Regions from separate parts of the Homo sapiens genome. Here region 2 is linked to region 1. The links are contacts of gene promoters, found by promoter capture Hi-C in blood cells and fetal thymus (Javierre and others, 2016). All regions are on one chromosome and are shown on one strand. Each heading gives the region's core, a stretch centred on a gene start or on the middle of the fragment in contact. The rest is flanking DNA. Distances are from core to core; before and after follow the strand shown. Region 1 holds the start of KIAA0753. Region 2 holds the start of PIMREG (PICALM interacting mitotic regulator).

What was found. The method cuts DNA at HindIII sites, captures the fragments that hold promoters and counts their contacts. A CHiCAGO score of 5 or more calls a contact.
Region 2: the fragment with the promoter of PIMREG here is called in contact with the fragment with the promoter of KIAA0753 in region 1 in 2 of 17 cell types (M0 macrophages and M1 macrophages); the score reaches 6.4 in M0 macrophages.

The regions. Positions count from the first base shown.
Region 1 is chr17:6,639,076-6,642,193 of GRCh38, forward strand. KIAA0753 reads right to left here and starts at 1,636. Exons shown (of 19, transcript NM_014804.3): 1 at 1,562-1,636. TXNDC17 (thioredoxin domain containing 17) reads left to right here and starts at 1,985. Exons shown (of 4, transcript NM_032731.4): 1 at 1,985-2,152; 2 at 2,678-2,759. The coding sequence starts at 2,008. LOC122526780 reads right to left here and starts at 1,241. Exons shown (of 1, transcript NM_001396008.1): 1 at 1-1,241. The coding sequence starts at 1,241. RefSeq lists enhancers at 195-264, 1,163-2,044, 2,175-2,444, 2,645-2,704. The HindIII fragment of the contact is 13,898 bases long and covers 1-3,118 here.
Region 2 is chr17:6,442,903-6,445,894 of GRCh38, forward strand. It overlaps PIMREG (PICALM interacting mitotic regulator), which reads left to right and starts at 1,553. Exons shown (of 6, transcript NM_019013.3): 1 at 1,553-1,586; 2 at 2,174-2,502. The coding sequence starts at 2,209. All of the region lies in intron 2 of LOC107985017 (a long non-coding RNA gene), which reads right to left. RefSeq lists silencers at 863-1,012, 1,243-1,492, 1,575-1,802 and an enhancer at 933-1,511. The HindIII fragment of the contact is 3,587 bases long and covers 1-2,801 here.

The DNA of each region.
Region 1 (3,118 bases), core at 386-2,885:
GAGTATCCTGTGCCCCACGGGCCGGGCATACCCACAGAGTCTGTCTCCTCCACAGCCTGTCTCCTGTAACACACACCTGCGGCACCCACAGAAGTAGGCTCCTCCTCCACAGCATCGGACACCCCCACAGCCTGTCCCCTCCCCCATACGCCAGGGGTGGCCCCACAGACTGCTTCATGTGTCAGAGCCCCAGGAATCTGCGGGGACTGTCCTCTCCCCCACAGACCTGCAGCACCGCCACAGCCGAGCTCTCCCTCCATGGCTCTGGGCGCTCCCACAGCCCCAGTCCACCCCACGGTCCCAGGCTCGCCCATAGTCTGTTCTTTTTCACAAGGGCCTGAGACAAACCCATAGCCTATCTCCTCCCCAGTCTCAGGAACCCCCACAGCTTCTCCCCTCCACAGGTGCGGGGCCATTTCAGAACTTGACGCCAAAGCCCCAGGCACACTCGCAGGAGGCACCCTCCCAGCCTGTCCCTGTCCACAGAAGCCTAAGGCTCTCTCGTAAGCTGCCCCTAAGCCCAGAGCTGTGGGCCCTGAGGGGGCCCGAGGGATCCCCCTTGCCTGTTCCTTCACCCAGGGCCCTGTAAGACCGCCGCGGCTTGTCTCTACCCAGGAAGCTCGGCCAGGAACACCCCTTTCGACAGGTCCCTCTCCTGCAGGCACGGGATGGAGCTCGACTCTACTTCCTTCCCCACATCCCGAGGCGGCCCTCATAGCCTGCACCTTCAGCCACAGGTGCAGAATGCTCTCATGGCCCAGAGATCCCGGGCGACCTTTTCTCTCGCAGCCCCGGGGACTTCTATCTTCGGTCTCCTCCTCCCCAGACCCGGTCACCCACACAGCCCCGGCAAGCCCCACCACCTCGGGCTCCCCCACAGCCCCGTTCACCCACACAGCCCCAGGGTCCCTTGCAGCCTCGATGGAGCCTGGGGTCCCAGGAGCTCCCAAAGCCTCATTCGCCCCGGCGGCGTCGGCTGTCTCCGCCGCTTGTCTCGTCCCCCATGGCCGCTGACGGCCCTGTGGCCTTTCTGCACTCACACAGCGCGTCTCCCACTCCGAGGGCTTCGCCCGGCGCCTTGCTCCACGGCCTCGGGACGTCCCTGCGCCCCGTCTCTTCCCCCACGGCCGCCGAACCCCCCGCCCCGACCTGCTGGGCCCCACGCAGCGACCCGGCATCTTAGCCGCCTGCTCTCCCCGGCGCAGCCTGGGCAAGGCCCCACGGCGAGTCTCCCGGCTCATAGCTCCAGGGCAGTTCCCTTCCTCCCTACCGCGGCCCTGGGGGATGTCTTAGCACCTCGCTCCCTAAGCTGCTCCACACACGCACTCACACACTCCGCTCCGGCCTTGCAGCCTTTCTCCCTCCGAGCCCCTCACCCATCCCACCCCCGCCCAGTCTCGGGAACCCGCCCCCAGTCCCAGGCCCCCGTAAAGCCTAGACGGCAGAAAAGGTAACTGGGGGGACAAAGCAACAAAGGCTTTCCGAGTCAGATCTCCTCTCCCCCAAGTCCATGACTCTATGCGGCTTCCCAGAATCCCCCCCAGCCCCGGCCCGAGCCCACCTGGCCTAGGGTGAGGCGCGGCTACTGGGAGGCGGGCAACGGGGGCCCCCAACAAGGCCGCGCTTCCGGCCGCCTGCCCAGTCGCCATAGCAACAGGCGCAGGGCGGCTTGGGAGCCTTTGAGGCCCTGAACTATTTAAGGATCCAGGTGTTGCAAGGCGGTAAGTTTTGCAGCCAGTGTCCATGAGGTCGGGGCTGGGACTAGATTAGGGTAGATCTAAGCCTGGGCTTGGGAGTGCAGCTAGCGCAGAAAGATCTGAGGAACTAGAGCAAAAAGCCATGCGGATGGATTGTGGTCGTCAGAGGCTCCCGTAGTCTTTAGCGGCGCTGGCTTCCGCAGGCTCCGCCCTCTCTTGCCCACCCGGAAACAGCCTCGCCCCGCCTACGCGGGACCCAACCGCGGCGACCGGACGTGCACTCCTCCAGTAGCGGCTGCACGTCGTGCCAATGGCCCGCTATGAGGAGGTGAGCGTGTCCGGCTTCGAGGAGTTCCACCGGGCCGTGGAACAGCACAATGGCAAGACCATTTTCGCCTACTTTACGGGTTCTAAGGACGCCGGGGGGAAAAGCTGGTGCCCCGACTGCGTGCAGGGTGAGGCCGGGATTCGGGGGCTGCTGTCCAATGGAAATGGCAGGAAGGTCGAGCCTACGGCCAGAAGGGGGGCTTAGCGGAGGCAGAGTCTTGGTTCCAGACATCCGCGGAGCAATCTGAGCTGTCCCCAAGTCTCCTTCTATTAAATCCTACCCCGCCCTGCCAAGAGCGCTCTTCCTTTTACCACCTTACCCGGATGATCTTGGAATCTAGTTCCTTAAAACTTCTCACTCCCCCAGTACCATTAGTGTCTTACAGGATACGTGAGTTGGTCAGCAAATACATGTGCTTTCCATTGTTACGGGCGCGGTGGTGCAGGGGCAAATCGGGACTGGGATTTGGTCCTTACCCTTAACGTGGCTCTAAGACCAGAAGGGAACACCTGACTTGTGTTGACCTCTTCAGTTAGCTGCAGGTTAAAGTCTGAGTGCTTACCAAGACTGGGGGAAGGGGGAAAGAACACAGTTTATACGTGCCTGATTGTAGAGTTGACGTGCGATTATTTTATCTCAACTTTTTTTAAAGCTGAACCAGTCGTACGAGAGGGGCTGAAGCACATTAGTGAAGGATGTGTGTTCATCTACTGCCAAGTAGGAGAAAAGCCTTAGTAAGTGGCAATGTATAATCTACCTCGCAGACGTGCACAAATTGCATACTTAGGCGGGAAGGGCCTCAGGGACTTACTTACCCAGTTTGTCTTACAAGGTAATGTCTGACAAGTTAAACAATTAGAAGCTATTAAATACAAATTTAAAATGCCCACCTGAATTAAGTAAGGGTAATTCAACGAATTTGGTCTGGTGTAAGCCCAGAACTTAGCTGGCTTTACTTTTATATCTTAGTCACACTTTGAAACTTTGCACAGGGTAATTAGTAGATTAAGCCATAGTCCGCAAGGTTTTTTAAGTGTTTGCAAGAACAGTGATTACTAAAAAATTAAATGTAGGACTATGTCAAATATTAAGC
Region 2 (2,992 bases), core at 303-2,802, 200 kb before region 1:
TTTTAATCTAACATATTTCTGAGATTGACTTAAGTTACACCATCTGGCTACAATTTGCTTATTTTTCAGTGCTGTATAATATTCTATAATTTGAATAAATAACAATTTATATGTCTTAAAAAATGCCACCGATAGCCAGGAACGGTGGCTCACGTCTGTAATCCCAGCAGTTTGGGAGGCTGAGGCGGGTGGATTGCCTAAGGTCAGGAGTTCGAGACCAGCCTGGCCAACATAGTGAAACCCCATCTCTACTAAAAATACAAAAAATTAGCTAGGCGTGGTGGCAGGCACCTGTAATCCCAGCTACTAGGGAGGCTGAGGCAGGAGAATCGCTTGAACCTGGGAGGCGGAGGTTGCAGTGAGCCGAGATCATGCCATTGCACTCCAGCCTGGGCAACAAGAGTGAAATTCCGTCTCAAAAACAAACAAAAAATGCCACCGATATATGAATTTGGGCATTACATTTCCAACATGTGAAATTTGAGGGACACATTCAAACCATAGCAGAGGATCAAGTAAGTTAATAAACTGCAACACCGGTACCTGTGCATACTAAGTGCCATATACACGTTAATCATTATCATCATCCTTTCCTTGGAAATCACTGAGGCCAAAGGAGTGGGTGAGACCACCCAGAAACGGAGAGGGCTGAAGACAGAGTCTCAAGAAGCCATCATCTCAGGCTCTTGTGCGGAGAAGTAACAAAGAAACCAGCCGGGGGAGTGGGCAGCACTGCTCTGAGGTCACCGAAAGGAGAAAGATGAGCTGGAGAGAGCTTTATAATGGCTGCATTTGTTTGGATGCTAAGGAGAAGAGAGGCAGGCATTCCGCTGGAGAGAGGGAGGGATGCGTGGGGCAAGGCGGGGGCGGGGAGCCGGTGTAGACGGGTGGAGGGCAGACCGGTACTCTGGTCTATCCCCGCTTCCGGGACGCGTTTTCTAGGGAGGGCGGAGCGTGGATGGCGAGTATGGGGAACTCAGAGAGGGACAGTGTCTTGTCACAGGAAGGGAGGGTCAGGAGGGAAATTTGAAAGAAAACGTCTCTGGGAACCCAGGGCTCTGCACTGCCAGTCCCTGGCTCCTTCTGACAAAACCACTGAGCAAGAAGGAAAAGCCAGACCCCTTGGCAGGATGAGAGGGGTCTCTGCCCGCTGCCGGGCCTGGGGCCTGGGGCCTGAGCCAGGAGGCCTAGGTCCCAGGACCTCCGCCTCCACCCCATGGGTCAGAGCAGCCTGAACCCTGTGCGCGCTCCAGGGAGGGGACCCGGTGTGCGATGCGCGGGGGCTGGGCTAGCAAGGGCAGTGGCGCGAGCGGGACGCAGGATACAAAGCCCGGAGCCACGAGGCTGGCGGCGGGGCGGGGGCCGGAGCGATGAATGGGCACGGCCGGGCCAATCCAAGCGCAGCATTTGCAGCCGCGAGAGAGGGAGCCAATCGGATCCCCGGGGCGGTGGCGGTGGCGGGGGCGGGGACGGAACCAATCAGCTGTGAGGACGGGGCCGGGGGCGGAGCCGCGCAGAGTTTCAAATCGGCTGCGGTGGGCGAGGAGCAGCTGTGCTGCGGCTGTGCTCGGCCTTAGTGGTGTCGGGTGAGTGCGGGCTGGGCACAAGTTTCGCCCTTGTTGCCCAGGCTGGAGTGCAATGGCGCGATCTGGACTCAAAACAATTTTTTTGTTCGGAGGGGAGGGCATCAGGTTCTGTTCACAGGGGAGGGCATCAGGTTCGGACACGCACGGCCTGTGGGGTCGTCTGGGTACCACAAGAAGTCGGATCGAAATCGGGGCGTCTGGTGGGAAGGCCGGGGTCTGGGCGGGTGCGCGTTTGGTCTGGGCGAGCTGGTGAAGAAGATGGTGATCGTGTCCTGGGCCCAGCGCTGAAGCTCGGCTACGGCGTGTCTTGACCCTGCCTCCCCTCCTCGCCTGAGCCAGAGAGAGGAAGGAGGTTGGGATGAAAAGACAGCTGTTTTGGAAACTTGAAGGGCGGGACATCAGAAATGCTGCTGACCCGAGGCCCCTCTTCCAGGAAGCATCCTCCTTCCTGCACCCACACTTACCAACTCGCCCGCCCCCGCCACCCCGCTGCATCCCGTCTCTTCCCCTGTGTCCAGGGTCTCTGTGGGGCCTGGGAATGGGTATGGGGAATGCCTTGCTGATCTGCCTTTCGCCCTCCTCCCCAGGGTCTAGTGGACAGAGAAGACTCTTGGCCAGGCAGATGGCTTCTCGGTGGCAGAACATGGGGACCTCCGTGCGCCGGAGATCTCTCCAGCACCAGGAGCAGCTGGAGGACAGCAAGGAGCTGCAGCCTGTGGTCAGCCATCAGGAGACCTCTGTAGGGGCCCTGGGGTCCCTGTGCAGACAGTTCCAAAGGAGGCTGCCCCTGAGAGCCGTCAACCTCAACCTCCGCGCAGGGCCCTCCTGGAAACGCCTGGAAACCCCAGAGCCAGGTCAGCAGGGCCTCCAGGCTGCAGCTCGCTCAGCTAAGAGTGCTTTGGGTGCCGTGTCCCAGGTAATACTGACAACACTAATCATCTTTTTTATGGAGTGTTTCCTTGGTGCCAGGCAGTTCCTGCCCTCAAAGAGCCTCAAGAATATAGACTTCATGAAAACAGGGACGTTGGTTAGTTCACTGCTGTTTCCCCACCACCCCAGATAGTTCCTGGCACATATAGGTGCTCAACAAATAGTTGAATGAGTGAATGAAAGCATGTCTTGGAGGAAACAGATGCTCACAATACCAGGTGATAAGAGCTGTACGTGATAGGAAATTGCAAAGCAAGTGACCAATAGTGAGGCTCACCAAATGCAAGCTTAGTCGGTGAAGGCTTCCCAGAGGAGGTGATTCCAGAGTTCACCCAGGGAAGCAAAGGTCAAGGGGTATTTAGGGTAGGGGAAATAGTGCAAGTCCAGGCCTAGAGCTGAGGGAAAGCAAGGTGTACTGCCCACTCAGCTGTGTATCCCTGAGGAGAGCCAGAATTGTAGTCTGGGTATGAACAGAT